2 separate regions of the Homo sapiens genome follow, and region 2 is linked to region 1. Evidence: promoter capture Hi-C in human tissues and cell types (Jung and others, 2019). All regions are on one chromosome and are shown on one strand. The core of a region is centred on a gene start or on the middle of the fragment in contact, and the rest is flanking DNA. Distances in the headings are between cores, read along the strand shown.

Region 1 (5,565 bases), core at 712-3,211:
ATTCTTCTGCTTGTTGATATCACAAGCAGAAAATTGAGAAAGGTTATTCAATTGCTTTATCTCATCAGAAAAGAAAGGCTGTAAATTAGAAGCTTTAACCTGGTGTTACAGAAAAGCACAACAAATTTTAAACATACATACAAGGCCGGATGCAGTGACTCATGCCTGTAATCCCAGCACTTTGGGAGGCCAAGGCGGGTAGATCACATGAGGTCAGGAGTTCAAGACCAGCCTGACCAACACGGTTAAACCCCATCTCTACTAAAAATACAAAAATTAGCTGGGCATGGTGGCGGGCACCTGTAATCCCGGCTACAGCTACTCGAGAGTCTGAGGCAGGAGAATCACTTAAACCCAGGAGGCAGAGGTTGCAGTGGGCCAAGATCAGGCCACTGCATTGCACTCCTGCCTGGGCAACAAGAGCGAGACTCCATCTCAAAAAATAAAATAAACATATAAGTTTATAAATACATACACATGCATATGCACAAGTGCACACATATATTCCACAGCGTCACTAAGTATTAATTTGTACATTTATCGTGTAATGAACAAGCCCTATAGTATCTGTATGAATTCTGACCCATTATTACATCAACCTGAACCCATACTTCAGTCTTATAAATATGTGTAAACTCACTGACACGTGTTCTACGTACTTTTTAGATTTTCACAATTGCTTAGCCACTTTGCTAAGAGACCTGTGGTTATCAGCTACTATACATGTACAAAGAAATCAAAAAGATCTAAAATTGGGCTACCATTATTTGAAGAAAAAAGTTGAACGTCCTCTCATTCCAAGAAGGAAAATACGCACAGCATTCGAAATAGCACCATTATTATAGAACTGAGAGTTAGGTTACCCGACCCTGCAAGTTTAATATAGCCGGTGTTTCTAAGCTCTGCCTGGTCTCCACATCTCTGCTTGGAATTGAGTTTAAGGCTGAACTCTAAGTAAACAATTTCACGCGTGCTGAAAACCCAACTCTACCCCACTCGCTGATGAAACGAAGGTGACACCTCTCATTATTAAGGTCAGAATCTGTGCAAATGAAAAAGGACCAATCAATCACTTCACCTTCGAATGCAGGCCAAGGTTACAATCTGGGCAGCCTGTGGTGAGAATGAAAGAGCAGACGCTGCCGGTGAAGCAAGGCTGAGTTTCACTCAGAGGCAGGAAGCCCTGGAGCCTGTCCTTTCCCTCCCCAGGATGCCCGAGGGCCGGCCATGAGTAAAGGGCCCACCTCTGCGCTCAGCCCTAGAGGCTAAGGGACAACAGTTGATTTTAAGACAATTGTCCGTCCACGCCCTTTTGTTTTTTTCAAAAAAACAAACAACAAAAAAAACCCCAGCAGATCAGCGACCCGGCGTGTGGAACTGCCTCGCGGCTACCGCCCCCACTCACCGCACACCATCAGCAGCAGGACGATCAGCAGCGTGGCCACGAACACAAGCAGAGTCAGCCCGACGCTGTGCCACATCTTGGGGGCAGAAGGGCAGTCGGCTCGGGGCGGCTGGCGCGGACGGCGGTGAGCGCGGGCGGCGGCGCGTCCTGCGCTTCAGCGGCGGGCGCCAGGCGCGGCTGGGCGCCGGGGCGGCATGGGCGGCTGGCGCCCCCTCGGCAGCGCCCCCAGGGGGTGGGGCGGCGCAAAGGCGGGCACTGTGGGACCGCCCGCCCGCCCGATCCTTTTCCCGCCGGGGTGGCCAGAGCGCGGGAGGCAGGCGGGCCTCAGGGCGCCTCTAGTCCCTCATCGCCCCGGAGAGCCGAGGCCGCGGCACCCAGAGACCCCAGCGGTCGGATGCGCTTCCATGGCGGACGCCGCGCGCCTGTAGGGAGGACAGAGGGTAAGCACGGGTACACACGGCGGCCACAAGGCCCTCGTCGCTGTCCACCCGTGTCTCTGAGACCCCAGGGATGCCAGATGTCAGCGTCGCCCGGCCGCGGCTGTAGCGGCTTCTCCGCCCCAGGCCCCCTACCGCTGGGGCAGCTCATCACCAAGCTCGCCTCCTCCGCGGCGCGGGGTCGGCTGGGAGATGGAGTGCAGAGCCTGGTGGAGTCGGGACGGCGTTGTCTCGCAGGGACTACAACTCCCAGAATGCACCGCCACTCGGGCTTCGCTGCTTTCATTCTCGGGCGGCTCTGCCTTTGGTCTTGCTCAAGTCGCCTCAGTCGGACGACCGTGGGCTGGCCTTCTCCAAAGCCGCGGATCTGGCTGCCCGTCCTGCTGAGGCGCCAGTGAGATTTCAACCATTACTCCGTATACAAAGTCGTTTTGTTTCTAGCCGTAATCGATGAAGTACGGCGAGAGAGGAAAGAGGAGGCGGCTGCCTGAAAAACTGGTTGCTCGTGCACCTAGCCCTGTTGCCGGGGGCGAAGGTTGGCTATTTGGGACTTGGAGGAAGAACTCAGGTCCCTGCCGCAGACGCGGGTCAGGACACGAAATCTCATTTTCCCCCTGCAACAGATGTTATGTTCTATCTTTTCGTAAGTAAAGCATTTCAGAAATGGCCCGCGGGTGACTTAAGGACAGCTGCACTGCCCTCAAATCACCTGCCTGAGTTGTAAGTTAGACCCAGCTGCCTCCTTGAGACCAAGCTTGGAGATTTTGCCGCACTGGCTTACACCTCTACGAAACAAGACACTGTAGTAATCTCAACTACTGTATCTCCACCCAAAATTGAAACTCCCCACTTCCGCCAGATTACATTCATTTGTTAAAGAGGTGCCCCCAGAAGAATAGAGGGTAAATGTGTCCCTCTTTTAGAAGGAATCAGAGCCTTCGAGTTTTCCTGTGATTCTTTTGCTCCCTGAGATACCTTTTTACTCTTCTAAAAATTACAGTTTCCTGTCTTCTGTCTCCAAAAACAAACACAAAAGTTCTAAGCAGCAATCCCTTGATTTAATAAATGTATCCTGCCATACCCAGCTGCCCTACTATGTGAACTGTATTCCCTAAGAAGCAACATTAGGAACAAATACCATGTATAAAAATACATTAAAGGATAATTACTTGCTTTGCAACAGATTTAATATAGATTCCTGTGAAGAGAATGAACCCAGTGCAATTAAGATATATTTACAAAAAATCAGTGTGTGCTTTTTTCATGGGTGGTTCAATTATGTTGCATAATTAAAACACATTTTATTAAAAGCCAGTTGAAAATACGCGTCAGGGCTAGGCGAGGTGGCTCACGCCTGTAATCCCAGCACTTTGGGAGGCTAAGGCGAGCAGATCACCTGAAGTCAGGAGTTCGAGACCAGCCTGGCCAACATGGTGAAACCCTGTCTCTACTAAAAATACAAAAATTAGCCGGGGGTAGTGGTGGGCGCCTGTAATTCCAGCTACTCAGGAGGCTGAGGCAGGAGAATCGCTTGAACCCAGGAGGCCAAGGTTGCAGTGTGCCGAGATCACACCACTGCACTCCAGCTTGGGCAACAGAGAGACTCTTATCAAAAAAAAAAAAAAAAAGAAAAGAAAAGAAAACAGCCATCGGAAGAACTAAAATAATTTATTTTAAAGGACCTTTTTCTCTTTGATTCACATATATTGGAATACCTATAGGGGCCAGGCACTGTTCTAAGTGCTGGGGATACAGCAGTGAATAAGACAAAGTGCCTTTACTCAAGATGCTTATATGACAGTTGGAAAAAAACAGACAATAAGCATAAATAGAGAAATCTCAGGAACTGCTATTAATAGCAAGACAGTGTGATAAATGTAGGTGTGTTATTTTAGCTTGTTGGGGGATCAGGGAAGGTCTTCCTGAGGAAGTAACATTTAATCTGAGTCCTGAATGACAACAAGGATTCATGGAAAGACCTAGAGAAGAACATACCAGGTAAAGGGAACAGCTAGTGCAAAACCCACAAGAAGGAAATAAACCTGGCCATTGCTCTAAGCCTTTTCAATGTTTCTCAACTCTGGATGCACATTTCAAATCACGTAGGGAGATTTATAAATTACGAATGGCTAGACCTCATCCCCATACCAAATGAACAGAATCTCTGGGAGTAGGGCCTAAGCATGGTTGTTTTTTATTTTTGTTTTTGAGACAGTCTCATCCTGTCTGCCACAGCTGGCCGGATGCAGTGGCTCACACCTGTAATCCCAGCACTTTCGGGGCTGAGGTGGACAGATCACCTGAGGTCAGGAGTTCAAGACCAGCCTGGCCAACATGGTGAAACCTCGTCTCTACTAAAAGTACAAAAATTAGCTGGGCGTGCTGGCAGATGCCTGTAATCCCAGCTACTCAGGAGGCTGGAGAATCGCTTAAGCCCAGGAGGCAGAGGTTGCAGTGAGCCAAGATCACACCACTGCACTCCAGCCTGGGTGATAGAGTGAGACTCCATTTTAATAAAAATAAAAAAATAAGCCACAGCTATTTCCAGAGTCCTTTTACTATTCTCTTCCCTATATAAAATGTTCTGCTTCCTCCTTTCTGATAGCCTCACTCCTACTTCTGCAATGTCTGTCCACATTCCTCCTCAATAAGACCTCCCTGACTCCTGTTCACTCGTCTGTCTAGCTCCTCTAAGCCAATGGCTTACTGCAGCCTCGACCTCCCGGACTCAAGTGATCCTCCCACCTCAGCCTCCTGAGTAGCTGGGACCACAGGCGTGCATCACCATGCCCTGCTAATTTTATTTTTTGTAGAGATAGGTTTTCGTCATATTACCTAGGCTGGTCTCGAACTCCTGCGCTCAAGTAATCTGCCTGCGTTGGCCTCCCAAAGTGATGGAATTACAGGCGTGAGCCACTACACCTAGTTATCAGTCTTGTTTATACATTGGAATTATCCAGGGAGCTTTAAAAACATTCCTAGATTTTGGGCCGGGCGCAGTGGCTCATGCCTGTAATCCCAGCACTTTGGGAGGCCGAGGCAGGAGGATCACTTGAGGTCAGGAGTTCAAGACCAGCCTGGACCACAAGGTGAAACCTCATCTCTACTAAAAATGCAAAAAAATTTAGCCAGGCATGGTGGCACGTGCCTGTAATCCCAGCTACTTGGGAAGCTGAGGAGGGAGAATTTGTGGAACCCGGGAGATGGAGGTCGCAGTGAGCCAAGATCACACCACTGCACTCCAGCCTGGGAGACAAAGCAAGACTCTGTTTAAAAAAAAAAAAAAAATTTCGTAACTTTCATATCAGGAATACTGAAGGCAGGGAAGGAGGTATAGAGGACCTGTAATTTTTTTAATGTTCTCCATGTTTTGATGAACAGACTTGAGAAATGCTAGTGTAAATTACATTTAGCAATTGTGTGCCCACCTTGTGATAGCCCTTGGATTGTTTTATATTTAGCACTTCATATATATATATATATATATATATATGTTCATATATGTCTTACTTCAGGCTGCTGTAACAAAATACCTTAGATTGGGTAGTTTGTAAACAACAGAAATTTATTGCATACAGTTTTGGAGGCTAAGAAGTCCAAGATCAAAGTGCCAGCAGATTCAATGTCTGGTGAGGGCTCGCTGCTTCATAGATGGCACCTCTTGCTGTGTCCTTACAAGGTGGAAGAGGCAAGGCAGTTCGCTCAAGCTTTTCGAGTTCTTTT
Region 2 (5,747 bases), core at 2,079-4,578, 1.5 Mb before region 1:
AATCATGGCGGTAGCAGATGGAGACTTACAGAGGTTATCAGATCTATGTCTTTCCCTTCTGGCAGGATGATATCAACCACACAGCATGGCCTAAGAGATGGCTAACTGGCTTATGCACTCTAGATCATTGTTGTTCTGGTTGTGACATCAACTGTCCATGTCATGCTGGATTAAGTCTTTAATTTCCCAGGAGGAACACAGCGATCATAGAGCCATAAAACAATCTGGTATGAGTGATAAGTAATGGAAGGAATTAAATATGATAGGGATATAGAGGAAATAATAACTAACTTTGGTTGAGATATGTGTATTTGCACAGTGGAAAGAGTAAGGAGGAATATCAAGAAATGCTTCAGAGAGGAAGTATTTTATTTGTATTTTGAAGAATAAATGCAATTTTTTCAAGTAAGTAAATTTAAGGTATTCCAGGCTCAACTTTAAGCAGAAGCAAAAGCACGAGGTTTGAAAACCATGGCATGATTGAAAAATCACGATGAAAAATCTTTCCAAGTGTATGCTTGGTGGGTAAGGAAGGGGAGGAGACATCAGAAAAGTATATTGTGAAAAGTCTTAAATAATTTGCTGCATCACAGTGAGAATTTTGATTAAGGATATGGACTTTCTTCTGAAAGCATTGAGGAGCCGCTCAAGTGTTTTAAGAAGGATAGCAGAGAGATAAAATTTATCGCTTAGAAACATCACTCTTGCACAGCTTTAAAGAATTGGAGGGTGGCCAGAAGAGGCAGAGAGATGCATTAGGAGGCTTTTATTCTAAACCAGGTGGGAGATGAGGATGGCCAAAGCTGAGTAGTGACAGTAGATGGGATGTAGAGAGGAGGTTAGAATTGATTAATGTTAGGAAGGAAGATCTAACATAAATTGCTGTTGGTTTGGTGTGAGAAGTCAGAGAAAGTAATCCCTACAAGTGAATAAAATTGCTTGGGAAAGGTAATGGAGTGAGAATTGGGTCAAGGTCTGAACCCTGGAGACTACGAACATTTAAGGGATAAGGACTAATAAGTCAGGAGGAGACAGCTAAAAGGAAGGGAACTGGTAAAGAGTCAATATTTCAGAAAGGAGAGTATTCCATGAGTATCTTACTTAGAAAGGAGAGCATTCTAAGAAGGAAGAAAAGATCAGCAATATACAATGGTGCAGAAAGATCAATTAGAATGAGAATTAAGATGAGTTCATTGATTTTTCAATGAGGAGATTAATAAAACAATCTAAGTACTGGTAGGGGAAAAACAGATTGGGATTATTTTAATAAGAGTTTTTCTGTGTGTGCGTGTGCATGTGTGCATATGCATGTTTGCTTTTTGAAATGGAGAGGAGCTGAGCTTTTGTTCATGCTGAACCTAAGGAAGAGGATAAAGATGCAAAGATAATGGAGATGATGATTTCATAGCTTCCAGGTGAGATGTGAAAGGTCCAGGTCTCAGTGACTTGAAGAAAGGCTGGGTTTTATCTAGGAGGAAGAGGGAATACATTTTCCTATGAGACCAGGTGATGGGGTGGAGGGAGATATGGATGGATAGGTGATGGCAAAAATAAATGGAAGATTTTCATGAACGGTGGTCTCTCTTTTTTCGAGAAACAGAAAATTAGTTTATTTCCTGACAGTAAATAGATATAGGGCAGCGTTGAAGGCTCAGCACTACAAAGTATAGAGTTAGTGACTCTGAGGAAGAGTTGAAAAAAGTGCAAGCAATGTTTGAGTGTTCATTTGAGTTGGGAATCACAAATGGCCCTGTCCTGCTCCACACTACTGCCTCCTTTGTGAATGCTTATTCACTCTTCAAAGCTCACATTAGATGCCATTTCCTCTAGCATGTTATCTGTTATAGAAGCCATCCCTATAACTTACTCACTTTTGAATCGCTAGGTTTGAGTAAAGTGCCTGGAACACTGCAGCTGGTCAATAAATGTCTGCCCCAGGAACACACATTGCAAGGAAGAGCATGAGCGAATTCCCAGAAGAATGGCTAGAATTAATTTAGATAAAATGTTTTAATCAGAGAAATTCATCTTCATCTTCTTCCCACTTCTCTTCTCTTCCATCATCTTCTGTCTCCTGATGTCTCTGCCATCTCTCTTCAGCTCCACTTCCCGTACCCATCAATAGCCTTCCCCTTCTGAAACAGTCATCTTTGCCCTCAGCTGACTATATTCTAATTTGTCCCAAACACCACCTTAATAATTAATCCAAAAGTCAACAACACTTAAAATAAGACTCCTCCCAAGTGTATTTGTTTTAAAAAGGAGAGACACTACTATTTGCCTGGAGAAGCAAATGAGCTCAAATATTACAGAGAAAGAATCCATCCTGACACGTGGAAGCCTTCCTTCTGGGTGGCTTCCCTGCTAATAGGCTCAGCTAGTTTCTCAGGGAGGAAGCCACCATCACCACATTTTTCATTCTGGGAAAGAGATGACCTTGCTCATTATTTGGAGGAGTAGGGAAAAAAATAAACACTTGGTACATTGCCTTAATAAAAATTGAACAAGCATGTATATGAGGGACAGCCATGCTCTAAAACACAAATTGTATGTCTCTCTTCCCTGCTCCATGCTAATCTCTGTCAATACTTTTCACCTCTCTGTAAATGCTCCACTCTCCTATGACCTTTGCTGGAGTCTGTGTTGATAGGGAGAGATTTTTGTAGGTTTGCCTGCCATTCTCCTTTATGTGTATTATTAATGTCAATACTGGGTCAATATTCCTTTTGCCATGAAATGTCCAGTGAAAGTCTAACATATCAATTGATTACTCTTGTATGAAGCAACTAAAAGGGAGAAATGAAGTGCTTATATAGAAGAAAGACATCCTTAAAACCAAGAAAAATTAAGGCATCACTGATAGTATTTACTGAGCCATCAGAGTGGGTATTCATCAGTTTAAACCTCTTGTGTGAGTCTTTTTGCTGACAAATACGTCTTGGATATGATGCAACTTTTTACAATTAATTCTAGGTGATCCTCCTGCACCCAGGAAATCTGTGTGCAGAGCTTAGCATGCCTGGGACCAGTAAATAAAGTTTTCCTCCGTGCAACTAAACCGTTTGATTGCTGTTATTGATCTTGACCACCATGAATAAATTTACAAATAGCAGGTTGTTTTTTTCTCCTAGGGTGTCTGATTTTCTGCCCATTCTCTTGAGTCAAATTACATTGTTTATCTCCTAGTGACTCCATCATTTATGTTTTTCCTGGGATCTCCAAAAGCTGAGAAATACTCAAGGCTGGGTTTGCCTGAAGGATACTGAAATCTGCTCATTTGAATCTCCTTCCTCCACGAGTTTCTTATCTGGTCCCATCCACAAATTCACAAAGATGTTGCATCTGGGGGGAATCCCAATTAGATCTTACCCATCCCAATTTAGCCCGTTTCGAAATCATAGATGCAGGAAGAAAACGGAACCACCATCATTATAACTTGTAGTTTCTTGGTTTCTGTGTGACCTGTTACTTTTTCTGCTTACTCCTTCCTCTGTTTAACTCTACATCGCTTCCCCTTTTTCCTATAGACTGTTATTTACCCTATGGTTATAGGCAAATTGATATTTCAAAAGAAAGGAAAAGAGAAACAAAAGTTCTGCACCTTGTTCCTCCTTTAAGGACAACGTTTGCAAAAACAGTGACTTCTGAGCTGAGACCACGTGTTGGAGCAACTACCTCACGGGACCACTTTGCAGGACCGCAACATCTGCTTGGGATGGTCTGGGTTCAGCCTTATGTGATCATCGTTCCTAAAAATAGTTTCTTTTGTTTTGTTAATAAAATTAGAGAATGCTGATAAAGTTCTCTTAAAGGGTCAAAAGAGGAAAGCTCATAAATTACAGCATTCCATTAATGAACAAAGCTACAAGAATGCAGATTGAGAAACAGCAAAAATTACAGGTCACAAGCTCTGTGATGTGAAAGAGTAGGAAGCTTCCAGCCTTTCCTCCACAGGCAAGATGAAGAGCTGGAAATGAACTCACCCTAATCTCTAAATTAACTTAGATAATGCCAGTTCCCATATATCTTTTACTTATCTCAGATGAAAATGAAATTGAGGTGAAAGAAAGCCCAGGCATGCTCTTCAGAAGCTCAAAGCAGAAGAAAAGTTGGTCAAAGAAATTACTACTTCCATTGTGTGTTTCTTTGTATAGATCTAAATAAACACAAAAATAATTATCCTCCTCCTTCTCTCCTTCTTTTCCTCTCTTTAATATTTTTTTTAAAAGTTTTACCACACTTCTTTGCCAATTAGAGCCACAGCATCTAAGCCCTAGATAGTCCCTTTTTAAGAGGTCTTCCTGCATGAGCCCTTCTCCTCCCACAGCACATTACATTTCTTCCTTTATGTACGGGTTAACCACATTATTTATGGTCAAATTGGGACACTTTTGAAAGTGAAAGAAGTGTTACAGTAGGTAGTCAGGCAGAGATGAGCAGAGCAAGAGAGGCTTCCCCACTCCCCCGCATGGGAAAGTCAAACAACCGTCAGGTGATGGTCAGGCAGTTGTCAATTGTCTCTCTAAAACAATCATTGGTTGCAACCCATGCAGGGAAAGGCAGTCTCTCAATAGAAACACCTGAAACTGGTGATCAGCAGCTTCCCAGTAAGATCTCAGGAGCTGGGCAAGTGGGCTGACACCTGTAAACTAAGAGGCAAAATGGCAGAGTTTAACTGGATATGACCTTATGGGAACGCTCGACTGATAAGGGAAGAATGCTTCAAGTGAGCATGCGCACAACTCCAGTAAACACACGGCACCTCCCCTCCCAAGAGCTGGGAGGTCACTGCTCATGCAGACAGGCTGCCCTAAGGAAAGGCTCAGGGGAGAAGAGGCACAACTCCTCAGAAACGTGCCAACATATAAAACCCCAAGTCAGAAGTCAAATAGCGCTCTTGAGCTCTCAAGTTGCCCACGTGGCCCTCTTGCAAGGGTGCTTTATTTCCTTTTGTTCCTGTTCTGAAGCTGTTTAATAAGCTTTCACTCCTGCTCTCAAACTTGCCTCGGTCTCTTACTCTGCTATAGGCCCCTCAGTTGAATGCTTTCTTCTGAGGAGGCGAGAGCTGAGGTTGCTGCAGACCCATACAAATTTGCTGCCACTAACAGGAGTGCTGTTAATGATTACTCTGGGACAGGAATACATAGCGGGGGCGATTGCAGGCAAACTGACACTTAACATTCACCCCACTTCCAGGTACCCATTCAGCTGATTCAATGCTGGTTTCCACTTGCTGACCTGCTGCTTTTGGAGTCCTTCTCAAGTTGCTTCTTATGCGTCAACTGGGTGGCAAACTCAGTGGCCTCTCCTCTAGGATTCCCCTCCCTTTCACACATAGGCAACATCTCAGCAAATGCTTTTCTTTCTCAAGGTCAAGGGAAAACATTCAAAACATCTCTTGTGAAAGTTATGTATTTAAAAGGCTGAAACCTGAAAAGAAGAGTACTGGTGTACATGAAAAATCTCTCTCTGGATAAATGCTTGAGGAGACGGATACCCCATTCTCTGTGATGTGCTTATGTCACATTGCATGCCTGTATCGAAACACCTCTTGGAACCTAGAAATATATACAGCTACTACATACCCACAAAAATTAGAAGTTAAAAATTTTAAAAAAAAGAAAAACCTCTCTCCTACTGGTCTGCTTGGTTCTGATCCTGGTTCTTTGGCAAAGCTTTTTTTACTTCTGCTTTTTTTTGGCAACTAGGTAGAACTTCAGGTAAAATAAAACAAATAAAAATGTATT

Evidence for each region. The method cuts DNA at HindIII sites, captures the fragments that hold promoters and counts their contacts. A contact is called where the count stands out against the background at its distance.
Region 2: a fragment that was not itself captured here is called in contact with the fragment with the promoter of SMIM13 in region 1 in 1 of the 25 tissues and cell types used here (spleen).

What each region holds. Positions count from the first base shown.
Region 1 is chr6:11,090,230-11,095,794 of GRCh38, reverse strand. It overlaps SMIM13 (small integral membrane protein 13), which reads right to left and starts at 1,961. Exons shown (of 2, transcript NM_001135575.2): 1 at 1,406-1,961. The coding sequence starts at 1,481. RefSeq lists enhancers at 1,272-1,391, 1,272-1,813, 2,062-2,271, 1,814-2,354 and a silencer at 1,492-1,801. The HindIII fragment of the contact is 6,020 bases long and covers 1-4,073 here.
Region 2 is chr6:12,593,394-12,599,140 of GRCh38, reverse strand. No RefSeq gene overlaps it. Among named protein-coding and RNA genes, the nearest start is that of LINC02530, 11 kb to the right of the region's middle. The HindIII fragment of the contact is 5,512 bases long and covers 573-5,747 here.